Regions from separate parts of the Homo sapiens genome. Here region 2 is linked to region 1. Evidence: promoter capture Hi-C in 16 types of primary human blood cells and fetal thymus (Javierre and others, 2016). All regions are on one chromosome and are shown on one strand. Each heading gives the region's core, a stretch centred on a gene start or on the middle of the fragment in contact. The rest is flanking DNA. Distances are from core to core; before and after follow the strand shown. Region 1 holds the start of CLRN3 (clarin 3). Region 2 overlaps PTPRE (protein tyrosine phosphatase receptor type E).

The links. Contacts are between HindIII fragments. The CHiCAGO score rates a contact against its expected background, and 5 or more counts as called.
Region 2: a fragment that was not itself captured here is called in contact with the fragment with the promoter of CLRN3 in region 1 in 6 of 17 cell types (monocytes, M0 macrophages, M2 macrophages and 3 more); the score reaches 16.5 in monocytes.

Annotation. Positions count from the first base shown.
Region 1 is chr10:127,888,858-127,895,376 of GRCh38, forward strand. CLRN3 (clarin 3) reads right to left here and starts at 4,084. Exons shown (of 3, transcript NM_152311.5): 1 at 3,699-4,084. The coding sequence starts at 3,927. The HindIII fragment of the contact is 797 bases long and covers 3,888-4,684 here.
Region 2 is chr10:128,024,964-128,031,338 of GRCh38, forward strand. The region is part of intron 2 of PTPRE (protein tyrosine phosphatase receptor type E); the gene reads left to right. Among named protein-coding and RNA genes, the nearest start is that of AS-PTPRE, 34 kb to the right of the region's middle. The HindIII fragment of the contact is 2,730 bases long and covers 1,937-4,666 here.

The DNA.
Region 1 (6,519 bases), core at 2,834-5,333:
GCCTTGGTGGAAGCTGGTTGTTGTCAACACTCAATTAGGATCACCTGGGAAGATTTTTAAAAAACGAGCAGGTCAGGGCCTCACCCCGCGGAGATTGCTATTCATTTGGTCCAGGGTGGGGATGCCTCACCCGCATCCCAGGTGAGTCTACCTTCCGCTGTAGGCAACGTGATTGCTCAAAGTCCCACACATCTGCAAATCAGACTGTTCTTGGAACTGAGAACAAAGAGTGCAGTGTCACATGAGGAGAAATATCTCTCATAATAAAGTCCATCCTGGGCTGGTGACACCCTGTCTCTACAAAACGTAAGAAAAGTGGCTGGGTGTGGTGGTGTGTGCTGGTGATCCCAGCTACACCAGAAGCTGAGGCAGGAAGATCTCTTGAGCCCAGGAGGTAGAGGCTGCAGTGAGCTATGATCACACCACTGCACTCCAGACTGGGCGACAAAGCAAGACGCTGTCTCAAAAAAGAAAAGAAAAATCTTGCCGGGCGCAGTGGTTCATGCCTGTAATTCCAGCACTTTGGGAGGCCGAGGTGGGTGGATCACTTGAGGTCAGGAGTTTGAGACCAGCCTGGCCAACATGGTGAAACCCTGTCTCTACTAAAAATACAAAAATTAGCCGGGTGTTGTAGTGTATTCCTGTAATCCCAGCTACTAGGGAGGCTGAGGCACGAGAATTGCTTGAACTCAGGAGGTGGAAATTGCAGTGAGCCGAGATGGCGCCACTGCACTCCAGTCTGGGTGTGAAGCAGCCTGGGTGATGAAAAAACAAAACAACAACAACAACAACAAAACTATCATAAACACTTTTCCTGTCAAAATGATTCTGTAAAAAATAAGTTCTGGTCAGTGCGTAGGCTGAGTAATATTTGAAACGACATTCACAGGAATTCCATGTCCTAAATGTGAATGACTCATTTTGTCATGTTTGCCAGTGTGAGGAAACAGAGCACATTGTGCTTCCGGGGCCCTGACCACATTTTCAAAACACAGAGTTAAAGGAATGACTTCTTTTTACATGGCACCCAAGATCCAGAACCGAGAAGGAGGTGGGTGTCCACAGTGTGAGCTTACACCTCCTAGCAGCTCATTTTTCAGGATTCTGTCCTCCAACTGGGCTTTGCAGACATGCATTTCCCCCAACCCCCTTGCTTGCATGCAGACCTGCACATACCATGCTCCAGCAGTGAGTGCAGGGCACTGATTTTAGCTGAGGAAGGGTCTTAATCTCACACTGAATGGTGAGCCCTCCAAGGCCAGGAACCATGTGCAATTCCTTTCAGTATCCTGAGCCCCTTATACATGCAGCAGCTGCTCAGGGAAGTTTTTTTGAACAGAAATTAGATCTCCAGAACTTTGGGAGTAGCAAAGACAACCTGCTCACAGATGGACATACAGGACCTGTCACTTTTCATCTGGATGTTGGACAAACTAGGATGCAGCAAGTCAGCCTGAGCTGCCCGCACCCTCCAGTTACACACTGGAGGATTTCCTTACCAGGTCTGAAGGACGATTTTCCCCACAGATTGACCAATGTTGGCTGAATTATTTTGGCACTTTGAAATCAGCTGTCATTGCTTCCTTCTGCTATTTCGTTTCAAATCTACAGTCAAAATTGGCTCAATATGATAAATACCATGCAGAAATATAGCAGAGCTTTGCAATAATTATTACTCTTGGGGGACTCTTGATGTGACCTCATGCTAGCCAAGAAGCTGATATGGTTAAATTCTCAATTGGAACAGTCAGTCCACCACCGCTGGGCAAGAAAGGGGCGTTTGTACAGATTTGATTGTGCTGCCAATGGTTGGTTTCTGATTTGAAAAAAGCCCCAAGTGACCACGAGAAACCACAGGAGAGCACCCACGTCTCCATGTACACACTGCAGGGCTGCTCCCAGGAGAAGCATCCCGGGATCGTTAGCAGCTGAACACCGCAAGTTGAAGATTTCAGTAACATGACTTTCCCCTGTCTGAGAGAACTGCTTACAGGTGTTCAAGCCCAGCGATTATTACAATCATTGGCAATAAAGATCCCCTAGGCTCTGAGAGGTCCTTAGGTGTCAACCAGAGTGACAGTGCAGCCCCTTCATTAATTGGGTGGTGGTTCACCTTCTTCAGCACTAGGAGGTTGGGCAGTGACTTGGGGAAGGTCAGAATGTGGCTCCCCAGTAACAGAGACTTAAAGTAGAGATCCAGCAAAGGGAAGGCAAATATTCTGCCTGGCTGTGCTCCCACCTGGGCTGCCGCACCTACCTGGCCCTGGGCCCCTTCAGGGCTCTCCTTGACAAGTGCCTGCTCTGGTCCCCTGACATCACCATGCTCACCTGCATGCACACAGGGCTTTAGAGCCAGGTCCTGACACATCCTGGCCTCCTCTGAGTCTCCGTGCATAGAGATAGTTGATGCTTTCTTTGAAGCCATTTATCTCAAATTGGAAATCAACTGGTTCCAAACAGACACCATATGGAAACCAAAAAAAACTGTAGGTTTTGTCTCTTACTTAAAATTTGTTAAATGTGTCTGAGGCTTCAGGGCAGTTTTTGGTTTTGAAAATGCTATTCACATAACTGAAAGCATGACTGAGTCTCTGAAAGTTGCTGTAAAGCCAATGTTCCCCATCCTTATGGGAAGCTGAGGTTGACACCAGAGGAGATGTCCCTGAAAGGCTATGGCAATGCTAGGGGAGATGCTGCTTTTGCTAACATCTAAATGACAAATGTATAACTTGGGAACATAACCAGGTTGCTTTGGATTTAAGAAAATAGTTTCATTAACAAAGTCATAAACACACTAGAGCTAGAACTTAGAGCTAGTGTCTAGGACTCAAACTTCTTCATGCATTACACAAGGACTAAACATTACATGTGTATAAGGTAGAAAATGATGCATATTTATAAGTCAAAAGGTAATGACTGTATGATACCCAATAATGCCTGTATAATACTTGCATACAACATTGTTCAAAACAAAGTCCACTTAATGTGTTACATAATTTACAAATGTTTTTAAATTTAGAAAACATGAAGGTAGGTTATCAAACCTCAAAAGTCAAATAAGTAGCTAAATCAACTTATTATTCTCAATGAACTTTTAATTTTACTTCCATGGAGAGGAGGGCATTATTATATAAGAAATCAGAAAAAAAAATGTTTAGGAATTCCTATCAAATATACAATTAATAAATTAATGGAAATTTAATATAATTTCCAACGATTAGATTTTTTGGAGGTAAATTAAAATCAGTTAAAGAAATGAACTTGAGAAATAGAGATAATAAATTTTCCATTTTACTCTTTCCTGCATAGATGCCACTTGTGAAGTTCTAGACAGAGGTTGTGGCTCCAGCTAAAAACCCAGTCAATACAGTTAAAACATGTGTTCCTACTGGCTATTCAATGCCGTATTGCTGCCACATATTTTTACTTATTTACTTGTCAGTCAACTTGGTAGGTATTATTTAAATACAGCCACTGCTAGAATGATATAGACTATTGTATTAATAGACACAAGGAGAACCGAGGAAGCTCAAATAATGACATGGCAAATTTCCAAAATTATGAGTTAAGCTTGTACCTTCAGCCTAACCCAAAACTTACAAAGAAATTATTTTTGAATGGTTATTTGGCCCAAATATAGAATGACATAAACCTTAATTCAATCTCACTATATTCATTCAAATTAGTTTATCATTTACCTGCAAACTTTTTCTTTGGTTCTGCAAGTCCGTGACTCAATTCTTCACTACTCTCCCCACGAAAAAGTCCGTAAGTGATGAAAATGCTCCCATTTGAAGCAGAGTCTCTAACAGCAATTGTACTGGTGATCCATGCTTGTGTCCCAAGAATAGAGCAAATTACAATGAAGGACCCAAGGCTGGTGAAAAAGCTTGATAAGAACATCAATGTCTTCTTTGTGGTAGGCATTTTCACAGGAAAATAAGTTCTCTAGGACAAAAAAAGGAATATCTTCTTATAACACTTTTGAACCTTATCTTTTGAAGTCTGGTATTTAGAAATGGAGTCTAACACTTTATTGTCAAATATAAAATCTCACTCTTCCTGAGGAAGGGTTATGCTAATGGACATTGAACTCTGAACATGGCCATAAAATTAACAGTAGCTGAACTTTGGTCTGGAGTAAGAGGCTGCTATGGTTACAGCCAACCAGCATGAACAAGGGGTGGGCATGGTCTTCCCAGGGACTTCCTCAATCATGCAATTAATTTATAATCCTTGGCCAAGTGTCATGGAAGCAAGTTTAGCCTACCATATCATGACAGGAGTAGAATTCCTAAATAATAGGGCGTGGAGGATCTGTATTCCCAAAGCGTTGCTGAGTCTAGCAGACAACAACATGAAACCCCAACTCCTCCAAGAATTATTGGAAATATGTAAACATATACTTCACTATTGTGGATATTTATGTTGCTTCAATTTCACAATTATGATTGAGAAAGAACAACACCCAAATATCTTTAGGCATAAACCTTTGTTCATATCTCCACTTGCTTCCTTGCTTAAACTTCTAGAAGTTTGACGAAGTCTGTGGATTTTTCTGAAGTTTTTGCTATGCATTGCTCAGTTTCTTTACTCATTAGTGATTTGACTCTTATAATTGTTCCAAGAGGAATCCTAAGGAGGGTAAACCTTTGTCAAATGTACTGTGGAGTGGAAAGAGAAAAGCTTACACCTCCTTATGTTTTATACCTCTCTATTTTTAGACTTTATCAGAGAGGTTTGGCTTTCAAATTTCCTCTTTCAAATTGGATCATATTTGCGTATTATTTAAATTATATCTTGAGAAGTTTCATCTTTATTACTTTTTAGTACTCTGATAGAGATGGTTCTGAACATTCTTGTTTTTGGTCGTTATAGCTGTATCCACTCTGTTGAATGGTAAATAGTTTATAAATGGTCATTTCTGGACTTTCGAAAAACTCTCCCATTTGGCGAAAAGATCATTTCTTGAGATGATAAATAGACATTCATAGCATGTTTTCCATACCGCTTTTTACTGTATTCTTTGATTATTTAGTAATATAATATTAAGTTGGTGCAAATGTAATTGCAGTTTTTGCCATTAAAAGTTACATTTACTTTTAATGGCAAAAAAACGCAATTACTTCATCCTCTACTTTTCTTCATTAACACCTAACTTATTTGTGGAACTAGCTGATCATCTGTCTTTTCCGTTATTGTAACTAGATGACATGCTCCGGGAGGTGGACATGTTTGTTTTGTGTACCACTGGATTCCAGGGAACTCTCAAAGAGCCTGGCCCAGAGAAGACACTCAGCAAACATTTGTTCAATAAATTATTGGAGATACGTACACACATACTCTACTACTGTGGACACTTATGTTGTTTCTATCTTAAAATTATGATTAAGGAAGAACAATGCATGAACATCCTTATGCATAAACCTTTGTCCATATCTCTGATTATTTCTTTGGTTAGACTTCTAGAAGTGAGTCAAAGTCTGTGAATGTTACTGAAGCTGTTGCTACACATTGCCCAGCTGCTCATTAGAAAAAGATACCAGTCACCCACCATGCCCTTAACACAATGAAGGTGCACACTTTCCTACATCCTCAAAACATGTATATTATTGGGAAAATTTACTATTTTTTCCATTTAAGTCTATTTATTTTGACCACACTTTTAAAGGGTGGGACAGAATTTCAGTAGTTAGTTCCTTCTGGCCCTATTCCTAGTGTGGAAAATAATTTTGTATTTATTATTGTATTTTGTATTACATAGGCCTATTACAAAAATGTATTCAAATGGAACTGGCAAGAATAAAGAAGAAAGTAAATATAATAAATAATTTATCCAACAAGAAGTAATTGTGTTCACAGTTGGGCAAAGACTTTCATACCTACAGCTTTATGTCTTAGCTTCCTGCTGCTATAACTGAACACCTGAGGCTGGGTGATTTATAAAGAACAGAAATTTATTTCTTATGGCTCTAAAGGCTGAGGAGTCCAAGGTCAAGGGGCTGCATCTGGTGAGGGCCTTCATGCTAGTGAGGATTCTGAGTCCTGAGGTGGCACAGGGCGCGCATCATGGTGGCCAGATAGCAAGTGGGCTGACAGTGCTAGCTCAGGTCTCTCTTCCTATTCTTATAAAGCCACCAGTCCCACCCCGGAGAAAACCCATCGATCCATTAATCCATTAGTCCATGAAATAATTAATACATTCATGAGGGCAGGGCCCTCATAATTCCATTGCCTCGTAAAAGTGACAACTTTCCATACTGCCACACTGAAACTCACCAATATGAGTTTCAGAGGAGACAAACATCTGGTGTAGCACCATGCACACATTTATAATACAATTGAGTCCTACTCTATGTTCTATTTTATAATCTGCTTCATAAAAATTTCAACAACTTGCCATGGCAATCCTTTCATGTCAATAGATCACATTTACCATTGTATAAAGCAACCACAAATTATTTCTACAAACCCTTTTTGGTGGACATTGAGGTTGTTTCTAGCTTTTCACTGCTGTAC
Region 2 (6,375 bases), core at 2,052-4,551, 140 kb after region 1:
TGGGCAATATAGCAAGAACCCATCTCTACAAAAAATATAAATGAAATTAGGCAAGCATGATGGTGCATAACTGTAGTTCCAGCTACTCAGGAGGCTGAGGTGGGAGGATGGCTTGAGCCCAGGAGTTTGAGGCTGCAATGAGCCATGATCATGCCACTGCACTCCAGCCTGGGTGACAGAATGAGATCCTGTCTCAAAAAAAAAAAAAAAAAAAAAAAGAACAGAAAAAAGCACTGAAATGAATTATGAAGCATTGTTAACTCTTAGACATAATGGATTTTTTAAATTCTTTTATGACAAATTGCCACTTGCTGTTACTCTGCCAGCATCAGGGAATGGGGTCAGTGCTGTAACTCCCCAGTGAGGACCCACGGCTTCAGCTTCTCTGTCTTAGCTTTGCTGGAGCTTCTTCTTCACTCAAGGAAACCCCATCTGCAGATTCCAAGCCTCCCACTGGAGAGGTGAGGTCAGGACGTGGTCATTTGAGTATGGAAATAGCGATAGATTTTATTGCCCCACTTTACAGACGAGTAAACTGCAGACATCACCTCCGCAGTCATCCACACAGTCAGGAGTAGGCCTGGGCGTCAGAGCCGGACCCTGTGCCCCCATCCTGAGCTCCTCCCAGACCCTGCAGCTTCTCCATGCAGCCTCATGTGGAGGGAGCCCAGTGCCATTCTTCATCCCCCCAGGAACTCCCCAAACCCTGGGGCCTCCCTGCCTGCACTGGATTCGGGTCTGAGGGCAGCACTGCCCACAGAGCCCTACATGTCGGGCTGGACTTTGCCACCAGGACCTGCTCCAGGGGACCCAGGGAAGCAGCCCCTCCCCAGCTCCCAGCAGCCTCCTGGGTCACCCCCTTTCCCAGGGCACTGTCTGTTCCCCAGGGACCTCAGATGCCTCTGAACACACCTGGCTTGTGTGTATAGGGTGCAGGGGGCATGTTTATATGGGGAGGGAGACAAATATTTTTGTCCATGGCTGCCTTTCTTTGGCAGCCAGAGCCAGGTACTTCCAGAAGTACAATCTCCCAGGGTGTGCTCAGAATTCACTTTCCAGCACCCCGAGAGTCTCCCATGTATCTCCAGAAACCCCAAAACAACCCATCCCTGGCAGGCCAAGCATGCAGGCATGGTGGGTGGCTATGTGGCCTGACTCTGCACGGCCCAGGTGGGCCCCAGGCTGCAGAAGAAAGAACACAGCACTTCCTCCCTCAAACCCCCAGCGCCTCTCTGGTTGGCCAGCCAGGTGCGGTGGGCAAATGCTTCACCATCTCTGACCTCCCTGTCCTCATCCATCTGTGTTCCAAGGCAAAGGGGCACTGCCTGTCTGGGCTACTGTCAGGGGAGGGTCTGGCGAGAGGCCCCCTGCACGCTTGCCAGCCAGCACAAAGCAGTATTTATCCCTTCCTCCTTTCCACCTGGCTGGCACCTGACCTCTCCCCAGTCTGTCTTCAGTGAAGGAAGATATAGAACAACGCCCACTTCCAGTGGGTCAGCTCGGGCTTGTCCGGAGCATGGCTGGTCCCCTGCCCAGACCCCTGGAGGACACTGTGGACCCATTCAGGTCCCTGCAGTGATAGCCAGACCAGGGACACCACCAAGCCCCTCATCCTTATTTCTCTGCCTGTTTCCCCTCCCACTTTTTCTCTCTTAACACTGGACTTCTTTGCCAGTCTTTTAGTAGTGTTTCAGTGATTTTACATTTAGACATAGGCAATTACTTTTGTTCAAAACATTCAGCTCCAACCTTCACCAACTGAGATAAAAAGCAAGCCCTTTGCATCCTTTTCTCTTTAACAAGCAAAGCTGTCTCCAAAGAGGCCAGCTCACCGTGGCTACATCTGAAACATGCTGAGTCAACAAATTTTTACCATTAAGGGTTTTTTATTGTTATTCTTTAAATCTTTCATCCATGTAAGTATATTCACACTTGAAGCTTGGAAAATGTCTGGATTTTGTTTCTCCTTCAGAAAACATACTTTGAGCTTTTGTTTTTCTCCATGTGTAACAAATAATCATTTTGCCCTATGAATCATATTGTCCTGATTTCATAGAAAACAGGTGCAGTATTAGATACAGACGCAGAGAGGGTCAACCCACAGCTGTGGTTTTCATGTCTGTGGGCAGGACTTATAGTAGTCCCTATTTCCTAGAGAGGGTATTAGCAGGCAATGAGGTGACGCTTAGGTTAGAAGCGCTTAGCACAGGGCCTGGTGTGTACTCAGTGCCCAGAAAGGTTGATTTGTATTATTAGCAATTATTCTGAGAAATTAACTCTGGCCTTGCTGGCCTGTGCTTCCTGCAGTGAGAGGCCTGATGGAGCCCAGTGGTCTGTGTGGCTGTCTGCTTCCTAGCACTCTCCCTCCTCGGCTGCTTTTGTGGGGCCTGCATGGTGGAGGGATGCCTAGCACCCCAGAATTCAGCCCCTACTGACCAGCACCCCACAGGAGGCAAGTCAAAGTGAGGCTCTGAGCTGTAGGTTAAAGGAGGTGCTTGTCCACTGGCCAGGAATGCCATTTCCCTGCTGTAATCGTCCTTGTTGAGGCTGTTCTGCTCTCGGGTTTATCAGAAGATAAAGGGGTCAGCCTCCGCCTCCTGGCCTTTGCTTTCCTTCCTAATCCAGAAACATGTGGGTCAGCGCCTGCATGACCAGGATGGATACTGGAAGAGTGGGCTATGGAGCCTTTGGAAAGGTATCCGGGCATCATTTCCACACCAGCATTCGTGTTATTTCTCCGTGCATGAATGGATGGGCCTTGAAGAGCCCGAAAAAGCAGGCTGAGCTCTCCTGAAAGGGGATAATCCTTGGTCTTTCTCTTTTTGCCAAAAGATCCTGGATAAATGAACCGAGAGAGACCCCAATCTGGACCAGAGATGGTGCCCCTGACGTTTGAGCCCACCTGGCTGAAAGAGGGCAGGTGACAGTCCCAGGACACCCACAGGAGGCTACTCAGGAGCCTGTATTTTGGGCAGAAACAAAGAAGCTGAGAGGCACAGTGAGGTGGGACACCAGCACGCCGAGGGTCTCCACCTCCCCAAGGCAGGACAGGCCATGGCAGAGGCTTCAGGGGAGGGTTCCGGCTTTGGCTGGGGGCGTGGGAGTCTCCAGAGGCAGCGAGCCCAGGACACTGATGGTGCAGACCACTGGATTTCTGGAGAACACTGTACTTCGCCAGCCTGCGGCAGACACATTATTCACAGAACTTTCTCCAAAGGAGGTTAGCCATGTTTGTCAGGCTCAGGGAGAAGTGAGGAGGCCTCCTTACCATCAATTAAATATGGGATCCGGATCACCCTGCGCCTGTCTCCTCCCCAGTCCTTTCTGCGACCTCAGGTGGCCTCACTCCTGGCAGGCAGAAGGGACTCGGGTCACACACAGCCACACTCGGGGATTAGGACCTGAAGGATATCATTGAGCCCGCGCCCGCCCCAGGCTGGAATTGCTGGGCCGTGATCTCCTCCATCTTTTCTTTCTCCAGCTGCCTCTGAAGGTCACAGAATCTGCATTTCTTAGGAAAAATGGGGCAAAGGTGAGATGGTACACAGCACACCTGGCCCTGGCTCAGCCCCCCAATGTGGACAGGTTGCAGAAGGCCACTGCCTCGCTGCAGGAGGCTGGCCCTCAGCGCCCAGCAGAAGCGGCAGCCCCATCTGTCCCCGAGACCCCACCCCCTCAGGCACAGCTGAGCAGCCCGCCGGGGCCCAGGGTTCCTTGGTCTTGGGTTCTGATGCCTTCATTCCCAGAACACGAAGCCAAGGCCAGGAGTCGGGATCTGCTCCCAGGAAGAAGCCTCCATCCCTGCGGAGGGCTTGAGACCCTCTGGGATGCGACCCAGTCCCCACCCATGGCCACTCACTTCCACCCTGCCCCGGCCCAGCCCTGGCCACCCCAGACGTCTGGCCCTCGTCCCGAATGCTGTCCCCTCTGGCCTCAGCTGTCCTCCTCGAGGAGCGCTATCCTGCTCCGTCTCTGCTCAGGGTCCCCCCAGAGGCCTCCCGCTGGGATTTGTCTCCACTTTGCAGTTGCCTTTTGCCCCACATGCCCCGTCCTGTGGTTATTTACCTTATGGGGGCATCCTCCCTCTTGATTGCGACTCCTCGGAGGCAGATAAGAGTGGGTGGCTTTCATCTTCCAGCTCCCAACTCCCAGCCCACTGGGCTGCTGTGCTGTGGTGCACGTGAGTCATCAGATGCCCCAGGCGGAAGGCTCGTGGGGGCTCAGGGCCCCAGCTGGGGGCAGAGCACCTCAAGAATCCTCTCAACTGGCTGCAGGCTCCTAGTTCTTGGTGACTTAGTGGATGGAAGACCCACCTACAGGTTTCCAAGCTGCTGCCTTTCTCTAACACATGGGCGGGTCCTGGCTCAGCACTATTGTTCTCCACCAGCCCTGACCCAGCACCCACTGTGAGCCAGGCCTGTGGGTGTCAGCACTAAAGACCAGAAGAGTCGCCAGCCCATGGGGCGTCTGAAGCAGGTGGCACAATTGACCCTCTCAGCCCAGACACCACCCAGGGCCTTCTCCCTGACCTCGGCTACAGCAGATGAGAAGGACACTGTGGGAGAACCGAGTCAGGATGCCCAAACTGGATGACTTCCCTGAGGGCGGTGCACTGCTGAAGGCCCGTGGGTCTCCATTCTCTGGGATAATGCCAGACTCCAGCAGAAGCTTTAGTCTATTTCTGAATAGAGAAAATCTGCTGAAAAACGTCTATTTTCCAGCTGAATAAACAAGCCTTTCAAGAAGAGGAGGATGAAGAAAAGACGGCATGTGTCCAAGTTGAGCTGAGACGGACTGTAAGCCCAGGCCTGCCTAAGGCCCCCACAGTGGGCATCACCAGGGCTGGGGTCTTAGGGGCCGCCAGCTTCCTCCACCCACCTGCCTGCACAGACAGCTCCTGGGCATCAATGCCTCAGCAGTCAGATCCGCCCAGGCTGCTTCTGAAAGAGTTTTGTAGAGAGATTGCTCTTCTGGGGGCGGGGACAGGACACTTATCTCCATCCCCCCACCAATCATCACAGGAGGATGAAAAACCTCAAAGAAAGACCCAGGGGGCAGACACAGGCACAGATCCCAGTGGAGATGCAGGCTCCGGAATTGCAGGCTCCTTTTTGGAAACGGCAGAGGCTCCCCATGTGGGCTTCCCTCACCCCTCCGAGGCCTTCCCAGGAAGACTTGGTGGCAGAGACCGTGTCCACTCAGCAAACACCACCGTTCGCTTTGCTGAGTTTGCAGTTTCCCGCAGCATGGCTGCTGCCCTGGCGAACAACGGGGCCACGCCGTTACAATAACCAGCCCTTGCCTGATGAGTTACAGTTTACAAGACTCACTCATTTATGATTTCGTGGGATTCTCTTGTTTCACTCATTGGGAAGCAGGCGCAGAGAGGTTAAGTGTTCTGGAAAAGGCCCTCCTCTGGGGGTAGAGGGAGGGGAAAGAGAGAGAGAGAGAAAGGATGAGAGTTAATGAGAAAGAGAGGCAGAGAGAGACGTCGAACCAGCTGGGTCTTCAGGCTCCGTGGCCCGGGCCCTTCAGAAAGTGCCGTGAGTTGATGTGCTGGAGAGAATCCACGTGTCAGTCCCCGACACCTTATTTCTTCATGGCGATTCCTTTAAAAACACCCGTGGAGCACCTCCTCTGTGGCAGCTCTGAGAAGGCACCAGGGTAGAGACCTGCATGAGAGTTGGCCTCTGCTTTGAGCAGTGCCGCGTGCATGGATAATCCTGCCGGCAAGGTCTTCCTGGACATCTCTGAACACTGAGGGTTGGCGTTGCCAGGGGAGACTCCTGGTCGCCCGCGTCCTATTCAGGTTCTGTGGGTTCCCAGGGCCCTGTGCTCTCTGTCCCCTGCAGGCCTCCCTCACCTCCCCAGCCTCCTTGGACCGGCTGACTCCCTTTCTCCCCAGGCAGCCCTCCAGACCCCTCTAGACAGGGGCAGGCACCCTGCAGGGCGCCCCTACCACATCGTGTGCTTCCCCCGCCTAACACATGGCAGTTGCATTCTAGTTATTGAAGTCTTTTCTCTCTCTGGCTGAATCGCAAGCTTTGGAAGTGGGGAGGTGGGAGGAGGGGCCAAGGGCAGTGTTGGTCTTGTTTAGTTGTCTCTCCACATCCTGGCAGTCAACTCTTAGTAACCAATGCTGAATGAATGCATGGATGAATACATAAGCCAACCAGCAGGTACTCTTGAGTCTACAGTCTCCCTCAACTGGCAGCTGATGGATTTCTTTGAAATCAAAAGTGTAGCGTAAACCTACCCACAGAAGTTTAGTCCAGTCATCATCACTTTTGGAGGTCTGATCCAGGGTGGGCTGTACTCAGCGAGGCCTGGGGTGCAGCTGGCCAGCGTCTCCTCTGTCAGCCACACCCCTGAGCG